2 separate regions of the Homo sapiens genome follow, and region 2 is linked to region 1. The links are contacts of gene promoters, found by promoter capture Hi-C in human tissues and cell types (Jung and others, 2019). All regions are on one chromosome and are shown on one strand. The core of a region is centred on a gene start or on the middle of the fragment in contact, and the rest is flanking DNA. Distances in the headings are between cores, read along the strand shown. Region 1 holds the start of CBY3 (chibby family member 3). Region 2 holds the start of CNOT6 (CCR4-NOT transcription complex subunit 6).

Evidence for each region. The method cuts DNA at HindIII sites, captures the fragments that hold promoters and counts their contacts. A contact is called where the count stands out against the background at its distance.
Region 2: the fragment with the promoter of CNOT6 here is called in contact with the fragment with the promoter of CBY3 in region 1 in 1 of the 25 tissues and cell types used here (dorsolateral prefrontal cortex).

What each region holds. Positions count from the first base shown.
Region 1 is chr5:179,679,187-179,685,618 of GRCh38, forward strand. It overlaps CBY3 (chibby family member 3), which reads right to left and starts at 1,848. Exons shown (of 2, transcript NM_001164444.2): 1 at 1,687-1,848; 2 at 1-79. The coding sequence starts at 1,732. It also overlaps a transcript of CANX not described here. The HindIII fragment of the contact is 4,632 bases long and covers 97-4,728 here.
Region 2 is chr5:180,491,098-180,497,529 of GRCh38, forward strand. It overlaps CNOT6 (CCR4-NOT transcription complex subunit 6), which reads left to right and starts at 3,282. Exons shown (of 12, transcript NM_001370472.1): 1 at 3,282-3,666. RefSeq lists silencers at 3,022-3,221, 3,352-3,491, 3,662-3,761, 3,792-4,051. The HindIII fragment of the contact is 24,631 bases long and covers 1-6,432 here.

The sequences.
Region 1 (6,432 bases), core at 598-3,097:
GAGCGCTGGCGACTCGTGCTGCGCTCTTGTCTCGGGAGCCCGGATGTCCAGAATGATGAAGGCGAGCCAGGGGGCGCTGCTGGGAGACAAGAGTCCGGGTGAGCAGCGTGCTTGGTACAGGCCGCCTCTCAAACCGCGAGGCCGGCGGACATGTCTTAGCCCTGCAGCTACGGCTGCGGCTGTGTCTCACCAGCTGCTGGCCACCGAGGAGCCCGTCGTTCCACGCTGCACAGGCAGCAGTCTCACCTAAACCATCTTCCCCAAAGACCACTGAGGATCAGGCCCTGGGATACATATGCAGATGAAGGACGGGAGGAGGGCCTTGTTCTGAGTTGCAGCTGGAAGGGTGAGGGGTAGGGAATGGTAGCAAGACAAGTAAGTAGGTACTTAAAGGAGGAGTAGGACTTTGCCAGGTGGGTTGAGGATGGAAAATGGAGAACTTCTAGGCAGAGGGAAGAGCCGAGCAGGGCTTTCTTTTTCTTTTTTTTTGAGACTGAGTCTCGCTGTCGTTGCCCGAGCTGGAGTGCAATTGCGCGATCTTGGCTCACTGCAACCTCCACCTCCCGGGTTCCAGCAGTTCTCCTGCCTCAGCCTCTTGAGTAGCTGAGATTACAGGCGCCTGCCATCACCCCCACCTGATTTTTGTATTTTTAGTGAAGACGGGGTTTCACCATGTTGGCCAGGCTGGTCTCGAACTCCTGACCTCAGGTGATCCACCCAACTCGGCCTCCCAAAGTGCCCGGATTACAGGCATGAGTCACTGCGCCTGGCCTTTTTTTTTTTTTTTTTTTTTTTTTTGTATTTTTAGTAGAAATGGGGTTTCACCTTATTGGCCAGGCTGGTCTCGAACTCCGGACCTCAGGTGATCTGCCCGCCTCAGCGCCAAAGTGCTGGGATTACAGGTGTGAGCCACTGTACCCGGCAGGGCAGGACTTTCATATTTCAGATGTGAACACGAGCTTGGATAGGATTGGTGCTGGGAAGAGCAGAAGAGGAAGCTGGGAAGGTGGACCAGTGCACTATGTGAAGGTGCCCTACAGGCAGGCTCGGAAGCTTAGACTTCCTTTTGTGGGTAAGAGGGAACTGCTGAAGGATTAGAAAGCCGGGGTTAGATCTGGATTCTGAAAGCAATCTGGGAGGATATCTAGCATAGCCAACAGCATTATTGCCCTCATCATTCAGTCATTTGATAGACTTGAACTAGCATCTGCTCTGTGCCAGACTCTGGTCTTGGGAAGGGGACCTGAAACAGCCTCTGCCTGCCCTCAAGGTGCTCCTAATCCAGCTTGGAAGACAGATGCGTGTATAGACCACAGTCCAGTGTGTTCACTGACATCCTGGGGTGTGTGCCATGGGCTAGACCTATGCATAGGGCTCAAAGTATCAGGGATTGTGCACACTAAACATGACTTTTATTCCAAACAAACTGTGCCCTCAGGAAGTCCAAAGTCCAGATAACAGACAAGTCCCATTTTGCTCACTTCTCTCTGCACCCCCCACCCCTGCCCAGTAAGTGCTGATTCTATTATGTGAAAAAGGGAGCTATGTGTTGTTTCTAATTCCTCTTCTGCCCATGGGCAGTGAGAAGAGAAAGAACTAGAGCAGGGTTCCCTCTGTTATGCCTTCGTTAATTCATAATACACTTATCCCTCACATATAGGTGGACAGAGGCTGGATGGTACATACCATCCCCAAGATCTGGTTCAGGGAGATGGTCTCTGGAAGCCCACATCCAGGCCCACCCTTGAGATTGTATCTTCTCGGAGGATGTTTCCCCGTTAGTCCTCACTGTATGTTGTGCCTCACCTGGAAGATGGGGTGGAGTTGCTGAGCTGCTGTCCCAGGGCTAGTCCCATCTCTGACCCACTCAGCTCTTGTCCACCTGCTATGACTCACAATGCCTCCAGGCCAGGCCACCCCAGGACAAGAAGGGGTGCTGACCGCTGAGCTGTCAGATAGACTCTGGGCTCTCCCCTGCATGCATTCAGTGCATCATTGAGCACCTACTGTGTTCTAGGAACAGTTCTAGGGAAGTGAAGAACATATTCCCTCACTGAGCTGTCATTCTTGGCAGGGGAATGAAGGGAGTGATCATAAGCAGAGTCCAAGACAGGAATTTGTTCTAGGGGAACTAACAAGATAGTCTCTCAGGAAGCTAACAGAGCGTGTCATGGGTCAGGTTCCCTAGAAGCAGAGCCTAAGCTGAGCATTCTTGTTCAAGTGAATTATTGGGGAAATGCTCTCAGGAGAAGGGGGTGAGGGAAGCAAGACAGGGCGAGAAAAAGGCTAAGGCTGAGCCAGAGTGTGGTCTCACGTGGAGACTAGCTTCCGCTTGCTCTCATGGGGAACTCTGAGCACAAATGGCACCACAGTTAGGCCTCCTTAAAGCAAGGGAGCCCGTCTTTTGTACCCTCCTTCTACATGTCAGTTATTGGCCAGGGCAGCTGAGAGTTACCAGCCAGCTCCTACAGCACCTATGGGATGGGTGCACCACCAGTGATAGGGATCTCAGTAGGGCGCCAGCTGAGGAGGGAGGAAGATAATAGGATAGATGATGAAAATGAAAGGGCAGACTAGCCAACATGGCAAGACCCCATCTCTACAAAAACAAATTAGCTGGGCGTGGTGGCATGCGACTGTAGTCCCAGCTACTCAAGAGGCTGAGGTGGGAGGATCACCTGAGCCCAAGAGGTGAAAGCTGCAGTGAGCAGTGATTGTGCCACTGCACTCCAGCATGGGCGATAGAGACCCTGTGTTTAAAAAAAAAAAAAAAAAAAAGAGGGCCAGGCGCGATGTTTCATGCCTGTAAATCCCAGCACTTTGGGAGGGGAAGGTGGGTGGATCACCTGAAGTCAGAAGCTCGAGAACTGCCTGACCAACATGGTGAAACTCCGTGTCTACTAAAAATAGAAAAAATTAGCCGGGTGTGGTGGCGGGTGCCTGTAATCTCAGCTACTCAGGAGTCTGAGGCAGGAGAATTGCTTGAACCTGGGAGGCAGAGGTTGCAATGAGCGAAGATTGTGCCACTGCACTCCAACCTGGGCAACAAGAGCGAAACTCCATCTCAAAAAAAAAAAAAAGGAATGATTAAATTAATAAGAATATCCAGGCCGGGCACGGTGGCTCACGCCTGTAATCCCAGCACTTTGGGAGGCTGAGGCAGGCGGATCATGAGGTCAGGAGATCGAGATCATCCTGGCTAACATGGTGAAACCCTGTCTCTAATAAAAATACAAAAAATTGGCCGGGTGCAGTGGCTCACGCCTGTAATCCCAGCACCTTGGGAGGCCGAGGCAGGCAAATCACCTGAGGTTGGGAGTTTGAGACCAGCGTGACCAACATGGAGAAACACCATCTCTTCTCAAAATACAAAATTAGCCGGGCATGGTGGTGTATGCCTGTAATCCTAGCTACTTGGGAGGCTGAGGCAGGAGAATCGCTTGAACCCAGGAGGCAGAGGTTGCAGTTAGCCGAGATCACACCACTGTACTCCAGCCTGGGTGACAGAGCGAGACTCTGTCTCAAAAAAAAAAAAAAAAAAACCCTAATTCTGATACGTACAGTGAAGAAAACAAACCAGGGAAATACAGAAAGTGATTTTGGGACAGGGTGAGGAGTAGGAAGTAATTTAGATGTGGTGCTCGGTGAAGGCCCTTGACATTCTTGCTAAAACCTGAACAATAAGGAGACCCCAATCCCTTGAAGACCTGGGGGTAGAGGAGGGAAGTGGCTGGGCATGTTTGAAGGACACGTGCCACGTGTGCGGACAGTGGAAGGAAATGACGTCAGTCCTACCTACTAAGCCCACCCACCTGACTGCAAGGGACAGACCCAGATCCACAGGAGCTCACAAGCTGGGGCAGAGCCCGGTGGTGGTGCCACCTCCTAGGAAACTTCTGTAATAGTTTTATTGAGGTATAAGTGACAAAATCAACTACATTTATTTATTTATTTATTTTTGAGACGGAGTCTCGCTCTGTCGCACAGGCTGGAGTGCAGTGGCGCTACCTCAGCTCACTGCGACCTCCACTTCGAGGTTCACACCATTCTCCTGCCTCAGCCTCTCAAGTAGCTGGGACTACAGGCACCCGCCACCATGCCTGGCTAATTTTTTGTATTTTTTTTTTTAGTAGAGATGGGGTTTCACCGTGTTGGCCAGGATGGTCTCGATCTCCTGACCTTGTGATCCGCCCACCTCAGCCTCCCAAAGTGCTGGGATTACAGGTGTGAGCCACCGCGCCCGGCCAACTACATATATTTATAATGTATAATGTGAAGTATTTCGATAATTTGTTATGTGAAATCATTCCCAAAATCAAGATAATGTATCCATCTGGAGGTATCCATTACCTTTTTTTCTTTTTTTGAGAGGAGTCTCACTTTGTTGCCCAGACTGGAGTGCAGTGGTATGATCTTAGCTCACTGCAACCTCTGCCTCCTGGGTTCAAGTGATTCTCCTGTCTCAGCCTCCCAAGTAGCTGGGATTACAGGTGCCTGCCACCACACCCAGCTAATTTTTGTATTTTTAGTAGAGATGGGGTTTCACCATATTCACCAGGCTGGTTTCAAACTCCTGGCCTCAAGTGATCCATCTGCCTCGGCCTCCCAAACTGCTGGAATTACAGGTGTGAGCCACCGCGCCCAGCCTCAGTATAGATTTTTTTTGGCATTGGCTTCTCGCCGCATAATTATTTTAAGATTTATCCATGTTGTTGCATTTATTAACAGTTCATTGCTTTTTATTGCTGAGTAGTATTTCATTGTATGGAAACACCACACAATTTGTTTTTCCATTCAGCTGTTGATGCACATTTGGGTTGTTTCCAGTTTGGGGGCTATTGCAAATAAAACTGCTCTGAACATTTTTGCTCATCTTTGTGTGGACATATGCTTTCATTTCTCTTAAGTAAACACCTAGGAATAGAATGACTGTGTCATATGGCAGGTGCATGTTTACCTTTTTATTAAGCCACTAACAGTGAGTGAAAGTTTCTGTTTCTCTGTATCCTGGCCAACACTTGGTTTGGTAAACCTTCATTTTTAAAAAATTCGCTTAATTAAAGGTGGTGGTGGCGTTTTTGAGACGGGGTCTTACCGTGGTGCCTAGGCTGGTCTCAGACTCCTGGGCTCAAGGGATCCTCCCACCTGAGCCTCCCAAAGTGCTAGGATTACAGGCAGGAGCCACAGGGCCCAGCTAGTAAGCCTTTTTTTTTTTTTTTTTCAGCTCACTGCAAGCTCCACCTCCCGGGTTCACACCATTCTCCTTCCTTAGCCTCCTGAGTAGCTGGGACTACAGGTGCCCGCCACCACGCCCGGCTAATTTTTTTGTATTTTTAGTAGAGACGGGGTTTCACTGTGTTAGCCAGGATGGTCTTGATCTCCTGACCCCATGATCCACCCACCTCGGCCTCCCAAAGTGCTGAGATTACAGGCTTGAGCCACCGTGCCCGGCCAAGCCTTTTTAATTTTAGCCATAGTGGTAGCGTGTCTAAATTGTGGGGTTTTTGCTGTTGTTTTGTTGTTGTTTTAAATTTTTAACAGCAAGCTCATCCTTAATAAATTTATTTTACTTATTTATTTATTTTTTGAGATGGAGTTTCACTTTTGTTGCCCAGGCTGGAGTGCAATAGCATGATCTCAGCTCACTGCAACCTTCACCTCCTGGGTTCAAGCAATTCTCCTGCCTCAGCCTCCTAAGTGGGATTACAGGCGTGTGCCACCACACCTGGCTAATTTTGTATTTTTTTTTTTTTTTTTTTTTTTTTTTTTTACTAGAGACAGGGTTTTCACCATGTTGGCCCTGCCGGTCTTGAACTCCCGACCTCAAGTGATCCATCTGCCTCTACCTCCCAAAGTGCTGGGATTACAGGCTTGAGCCACTGTGCCCGGCCTTAATAAATCTATCTATTTATTTACTTATTTAATTTTTGGAGGCAGAGTCTCGCCCTGTCACCCAGGCTGGAGCGCAGTGGCGCAACCTCGGGTCACTGCAACCTCCGCCTCCTGGGTTCAAGCGATTCTTCTGCCTCAGCCTCCTGAGTACTTGGGATTACAGGCACACGCCACCACATCTGGCTAATTTTTTTGTTTATTTGTGTTTTTTTTGAGATGGAGTTTCACTCTTGTTGCCCAGGCTGAAGTGCAGTGGTGCAATCTTGGCTCACTGCAACCTCCACCTCAGCCTCCCGTGTAGCTGGGATTACAAGCATGTGCCACCATGCCTGGCTAATTTTGTATTTTTAGTAGAGACGGTGTTTCTCTATGTTGGTCAGGCTGGTCTTGAACTCCTGACCTCAGGTGATCTGCCCACCTCGGCCTCCCAAAGTGCTGGGATTACAGGCGTGAGCCACCGCGCCCAGCTTTTTTTTTTTTTTTTTTTTTTTTTGAGATGGAGTTTCGCTCTTGTTGCCCAGGCTGGAGTGCAGTGGCGTG
Region 2 (6,432 bases), core at 2,032-4,531, 810 kb after region 1:
TGGCTGGAATCATTAGGAAAGAAGCACCTTCTCTAAGCGGAGAAGCTGGTAGAATCTAAGCCTGCAGGTGTTGGTGGCATCTTTCCCGCTTGTGAGGCCTGCAGAGAGAACAGGATGGAGGGTGGGAGGTGAGATCGATTCTTGATGCCACCTTACAATGCCTGAATGGTTCAGCATTCCCTCTTTCAATTCAATTCCCTCCTTCTTGCAAAGAAATATTGAGTTGTGAGTTTTATAACTTGCAATGGGAGGTCTGGCCTAACATGAGGGGCACTTTGATCTGGCCTGAAAGGGTGAGTAGGTATTTTGCGGGGTTCTCCTCGGATATGCAGAAAGAAAAGGGCATGCACAGCAGAGCCACTATCGTACCCTCCTGGTGGCAGCAAGTCTCCCCAGAGGGCTCCAATTAGTCCACCCCGCCCTGCATGCACGCGCAGCTCCTCCACAGCTTATGTCCTCTCCTCTTGAATCTGGCTTGGGCTTGTGCCTGCTTTAATTCATAGAATATTGAGGAAGTGGCCTTCTTCAGAAGGCCTGGCAGCTTCGCTTTCCTCTTGGAGCCCCTGGTTGTCATGTAGGAAGTGCAGGATCACCTCCTGCTGGGGAAAGGGGCCACACACAAAGGCTGAAGGATGAGACACTGCGGGGGAGGCCTCGTTAGGGGGCAGCGAGGTGCCAGACATTCAACACCCAGCTGCCACCTTTGGTATAGGCATGAGGCCCCAAGGGTGAACATCAGAATCATGAGATACAGTAAAACTGTTGCTTTATGCTACCAAGATTTTGTGCAACAAGACCTCCCCTCCTCCATACAGTCGTGCCAGTCACAAGGGAATTGCTCCCTCTGTTTTTTGTTTTGTTTTGTTTGAGTTTTTTTTTTTTTTTTTTTGAGACAGTCTTGCTCTGTTGCCCAGGCTGGAGTGCCATGGCGCAACCTTAGCTCACTGCAACCTCTGCCTCCTGGATTCAAGCGATTCTCATGCCTCAGCCTCCTAAGTAGCTGGGATTACAGGTGCCCGCCACTGCACCCAGCTAATTTTTTTTTTTTTTTTTGTATTTTTAGTAGAGACGGGGTTTTGCCATGTTGGCCAGGCTGGTCTCGAACTCCTGGCCTCAAGTCATCTGCCCGCCTCGGCCTCCCAAAGTGCTGGGATTACAGGCGTTGAGTCCCCGCACCGGGCTGAGGTAGCTGCCTCTGGCCAAATTACAAAAAGGCACCCAGGCTGGAGCACAGACGGCCAGGGCACTCACACAGGGAGGAGAGGCCCTGCAGGGTGTCTGTCCCATTGGCCCCTCAGCCTGGGATACTCTGTACAGCACAGGGCCGCACAACTCCCTGCTGTACAGGAGGAGGTTGTGGAGGGATGGCCACAGGCAGCTTACTGGTCTACATGTGTTCTTCCTGACTCCTAAACTTCTGCACTGCTCTGTCTTTGCCCAGTGTCCTATGGCGCTAGAGGCCTGGGCTGTCACTCCTGATGTCATGGCAGTGCCAAGCGATGACCATCCCAAGGCCGTGCTGGGGAGAGGGGGATCATCTTCACCTCTGAACAGCTTTTGTCCCTCATCCTTTCCTTGCCCTTCCAGCCAGGTCTCCTCCACCCCAGGCAACAGCAACCCATTTCCCACATCCCCAGCTCTCAACAGCCTTCACTGAAGCAGAAGCCTCGGTTTGTTGCTACTGTTAGTTCCTGGAACCTGTCTCACTCTCATTTCTTCAGGGTTGATTTTCCAGGAAGCAGTTAGCAGCCTATCCTAGTTTGCCACATAGGTGGGCAGGCAGCTTTCCTTTTCCTTCACGCCTTCAACATATAGCTCAAATTTTTTTTTTTTTTTTGAGACAGGGTTTCGCTCTTGCTGCCCAGGCCTGAGTGCAATGGTGCGATCTCCGCTTACTACAACCTCCGCCTCCCAGGTTCAAATGATTCTCCTGCCTGCCTCAGCCTCCCGAGTAGCTGGGATTACAGGTGCAAGCCACCAGACCTGGCTAATTTTTTGTACTTTTAGTAGGGACGAAGTTTCGCCATGTTGGTCAGGCTGTTTTCCAACTCCGGACCTCAGGTGATCTGCCCCCCTCGGCCTCCCAAAGTGCTGGGATTACAGGCGTGAGCCACCGCGCCCGACCAATATACCTCCAATATTAAGTCTGTTGGGTGTTATTCTTGCCCCTAGACTGTGAGCTTACTCAGGGCTGGGTGGGGTCTGATTCATCTCTGTGCCCTGACCATCAGTCAACTAATATTTCTTGATGTAAGCATCATGAATCAGCCCAGTCATTTCTCTGCTGACCTTCAAACACCAGAGTTTGCCCTGAACACCTTTTGATCTTGGAGCACAGCAGCTGCTGTCCGTTACCCAGGCTAGGACCCCAGCACCAAAACTGTCCATTAATGTAATGGAATGAATTACCATTAATAGGCTGAAGTGGTATGTTAACTTACTCTTCTTTGTATAATTGAGGAAGGAATAATATTCGACTGTTCACGATTGAATGTCTTGTCTTTAGGCAGATCAAGATACTGGCTCCGGTCAAATACTGTGTTTCGACGTGATTGACAGGCGAAGGCTTAAGGAAAAGGAAGAGGAGAAAAAAAGGGGAGGACGATCAAGGAAAAGAGGAGATAAAAGTGGACAACCCAGCCGGGCGCGGTGGCTCACGCCTGCCATCCCAGCACTTTGGGAGGCGGAGGTGGGCGGATCACGAGGTCAGGAGATGGAGACCATCCTGGCTAACACGGTGAAACCCCGTCTCTACTAAAAATACAAAAAATGAGCCGGGCGCGGTGGCGGGCGCCTGTAGTCCCAGCTACTCGGGAGGCTGAGGCAGGAGAATGGTGTGAACCCGGGAGGCGGAGCTTGCAGTGAGCCAAGATCGCCCCACTGCACTCTGGCCTGGGTGAAAGAGCAAGACACCGTCTCAAAAAACAAAAAAAAAGTGGACAACCTGGGGCGGAAAAAGAAGTAGATGAAAAATGGAGGAGCGCTAAGGAGAGGAGAAAACAGAAGTGCCAAGGCAGGAAAGGAGCGAGGAGAGCGGGAACAGAAGGAGACGAAGGATGGACGGAGAGGAAGGGATGGAGGGCGGCAGGCAGGGAGGCAGGGCCCGCAGCGCGCCGGGCCGGTCCACCGCTCTCCAGCGCGGGGGTAAGGGGGCGGGGCCTGGGCAGCTGCGTGCCGGGAGCGACCCCCGCACCGAAGGGCGGATGGTTGTGCCCGGCGACGGCGCCCAATGAGCGGCCAGGATGTTGGAGCGCCGGCGGCGGTCCGGGCGCTCGCTGGCTGAGGGACGGCGGCCGCCGCCATGATGCTTGTTTGCTTTCAATGAAAACGAGGGGGGCGCGGAGGAGGAGGCGGCGGCGTCGGTGGCGGCGGCGACGGCGGCGCGGAGGCGAAGGCAGCGGCGGGCGCAGCGAGGAGGGCGAGGCCGGGGGCCGAGAGGGCGGGAGGGCGTAGTGGCGGCCCGTCGGGGCGGCTGAGGCGGGCAGCCGAAGCAGTGGCTCTCGGAGGGGGAACAAAGAGCAGCGACTAAGGCGGCAGAGGAGCGGCGGCGGTGGCGGCGCTGCAGCAGCGGGCGGGACTGGTATGGTGGTTCCACAGGGCAGACCCCGCTGCACTCACAGGGAGGAGGAGGCGGCAGCGGCGGAGGAAGGCGGCGCACCCCGAGAGGTGAGCGAGGCAGGCCGGAGGCCCGGTCGGGGCGCCGCTCCTCTCTCCGGCCGCGCACGGACCGCCCCCCGTCGGCCGGGCTCGGTCGCGGGCAACTTTCGTTTCGTGGGCGGCGGTCCCGCTGCTCCGCAAGCTGGCGGCTGTTGGGGGCCCCTTCGACGCGCCGCGATCGCGCCCCGCCCCGGGCCGCGCCCCCGGGCCGAGTCCCTGGGAGGGGGGCGTTGATTGACGGCGGCGGCGGCGGCGCGCAGAGGGGAGAGGGTCGGCGCTGGGCTCCCGGATCCCGGCCGGTCCCGGCTGCCGTCGTCGGAGGAGGCGAGTCCGTGTCCCGGGACTCGTGGCCAAGATGGGTGGCAACTTTTGAGAAGCGCCTCTGTGGGTGGCGCGCTGTGTGGAGTGTGGAGCTTCGCGCTCCGTGGCCACAATTACTGTCAAGCGGGAAACCAACTGCTTACCCCCTCCCCTAAAATGTTTTTAAAATTCAGTTTAACGCAGATTTTGAGGGAGAGGACGGGGTGGATTACAGGTTAAAGAAGCACTTGGCATGCAATGAGGATGCTTATTTTATAGTATTGCGAAGGATTCGGAGATTGTACTGGTTTCTACAAGCAGTTTTCTCTGGTAACCCAAATTGCATCCCTCCTTTTTGTTTTTCAGCACTAATCGCTATTTTCTTTGGAAACTTCCTTTGATTCTTTACCTCCTTCACCTTCCCCGAAGAGCCTGCTAACCAACACCTGTGGCCTTCTGTTTTTAACTGTTGTTGCCATTGACAGCGTTGTGAATGGTCATCTCGCTCGAGCTCTTTGGATTTGTTGTTACTGTGTAAGCTGATGTGTTTTAGATAATCTGCTTCAATTTGAGTTCCCATACTTACCTGTTTTCCAGGTGGATTGTCTCATTGTTAGTGCTGAATCTTCTTGCCTACTTGTATCTGGGAATTTAACTTTGAAGAGGAAGAGAGTGAATATGAATAACTGAAAAATAAAATGGTGTGTAGTAGCACTTTGTATTTTTTACAATATACTAGAATTTACTACTCTAGAACAGATTAGTAGGCTGTAGGAGTGGACGTGGGCCATTGATCAAAAGGGTTTAAAGGCTTTTTTGGGGAATTGCTGTTAAGACATTTATCACAGTCTTTATTTAATTTATTTATTGTTTTTGAGACAGGATCTCACTCTGTCACCCAGGCTGGAGTGCAGTGGCACAGTTCTCGGCTCACTGCAGCCTTCGCCTCCTGGGTTCAAGCGATCCTTTTGCCTCACCCTCCTGACTAGCTGGGACTACCGGCAGACACCACCACGGCTAATTTTTTAATTTTTTGTAGAGCCTTGCTCTGTTGCCCAGGCTGGTCTCCGACTCCAGGGCTCAAGCGATCTTCCTTCCTTGGCCTCCCAAAGTGCTGCAATTACAGGCATGAGCCAACATGCCTGGCCATCACAGTGTTTAGAATGTGATGACTTTTAGAGTAAAATTTAGAATAAAAATTGCTTAATATCTTTAGATCTGTGATCTACTCCAGGTGTTTTGCTTTAAACAAAATACATGAACAGCTGCTAATGAGAAGACAGACCTTTCTAGGTGGAGGTGACTTGCCCATGGTACTGTAATGAGGAGGGAAAGGACCGGGTTTGTGTGCGTGTGAGAGCGCATGAGTGTGCGACCTAATCGCTAGAGGTTTGTTCTTTTGGGAGGAGGGAGGGTATGTTAATGGTTGGAAGTTATTTCAGGTCACTTCTCAGTCGATGAACGAGATGCTGAACGAAATGATCAAAAAAGATGATGCAATTGCCAGGCATGGTGGCTCACCGTGTAATCCCAGCGCTTTGGGAGGTTGAGGAAGGAGGATGGCTTGAGCCCAGGTGTTTGAGACCAGCAAAACCCTGTCTCAGAAAAATATAAAGTAACATATATAAAGTCTGTGATAACTGTCACAACGTAGTGAGACCTTGTCTTGATCACTTTATAAAAACGGTGACGAAAGACAGATTTTCTTGTGAGACTGAAGATTTTCTCTGAAAGTCAATCATTAGGTAATTTCCATAGTGTCTTGATAGTGGTGATGCAGCCCAAGCGGCTCCTCTTGAATGCCTGTTCAATTTGTAGGTATTTTCAGGTTGCTTAAATGTTGTTGGCAAAGTAAAACTACAATTATTGGGAAATTTCAAACTTTTGAGCAGACATAAGGTTGGTTTATAGAACTTGGTCCTAACTACAAATGTGTAAAGGCGTTGTAGGAATTTGCCCACTGTACATGTAGTTTAAAAGTATGCATTTTATGCCAGGCGCGGTGACTCACGCCTGTAATCCCAGCACTTTCGGAGGCCGAGATGGGTGGATCACCTGAGGTCAGGAGTTCGAGGCAAGCCTGGCCAATATGATGAAACCCTGTCTCTACTAAAAATACAAAATTAGCCAGGTGTGGTGGCGCATGCCTGTAATCCCAGCTATTCAGTAGGCTGAGGTGGGAGAATGGCTTGAACCTGGGAGGCAGAGATTGCAGTGAGCCAGGATCACGCCACTGCACTTCACCCTGGGCAACGAGTGAAACTCCGTCTCAAAAAAAAAAAAAAAAAGTATGCATTTTGGTGAATGCTTAGACATTCCAGTACCTATATTTGCCTTCTTATATTCTTTAAATGATAAACCTTTTTCATAGTGCAACAGAAAAGGATAATATATGTAAGACATATTGGAATAAATGGTTAAGGCAGCTCACAGCTGTATTCTTTGGGCCGTTAGGGGTGAGGGATCAGTATGTTC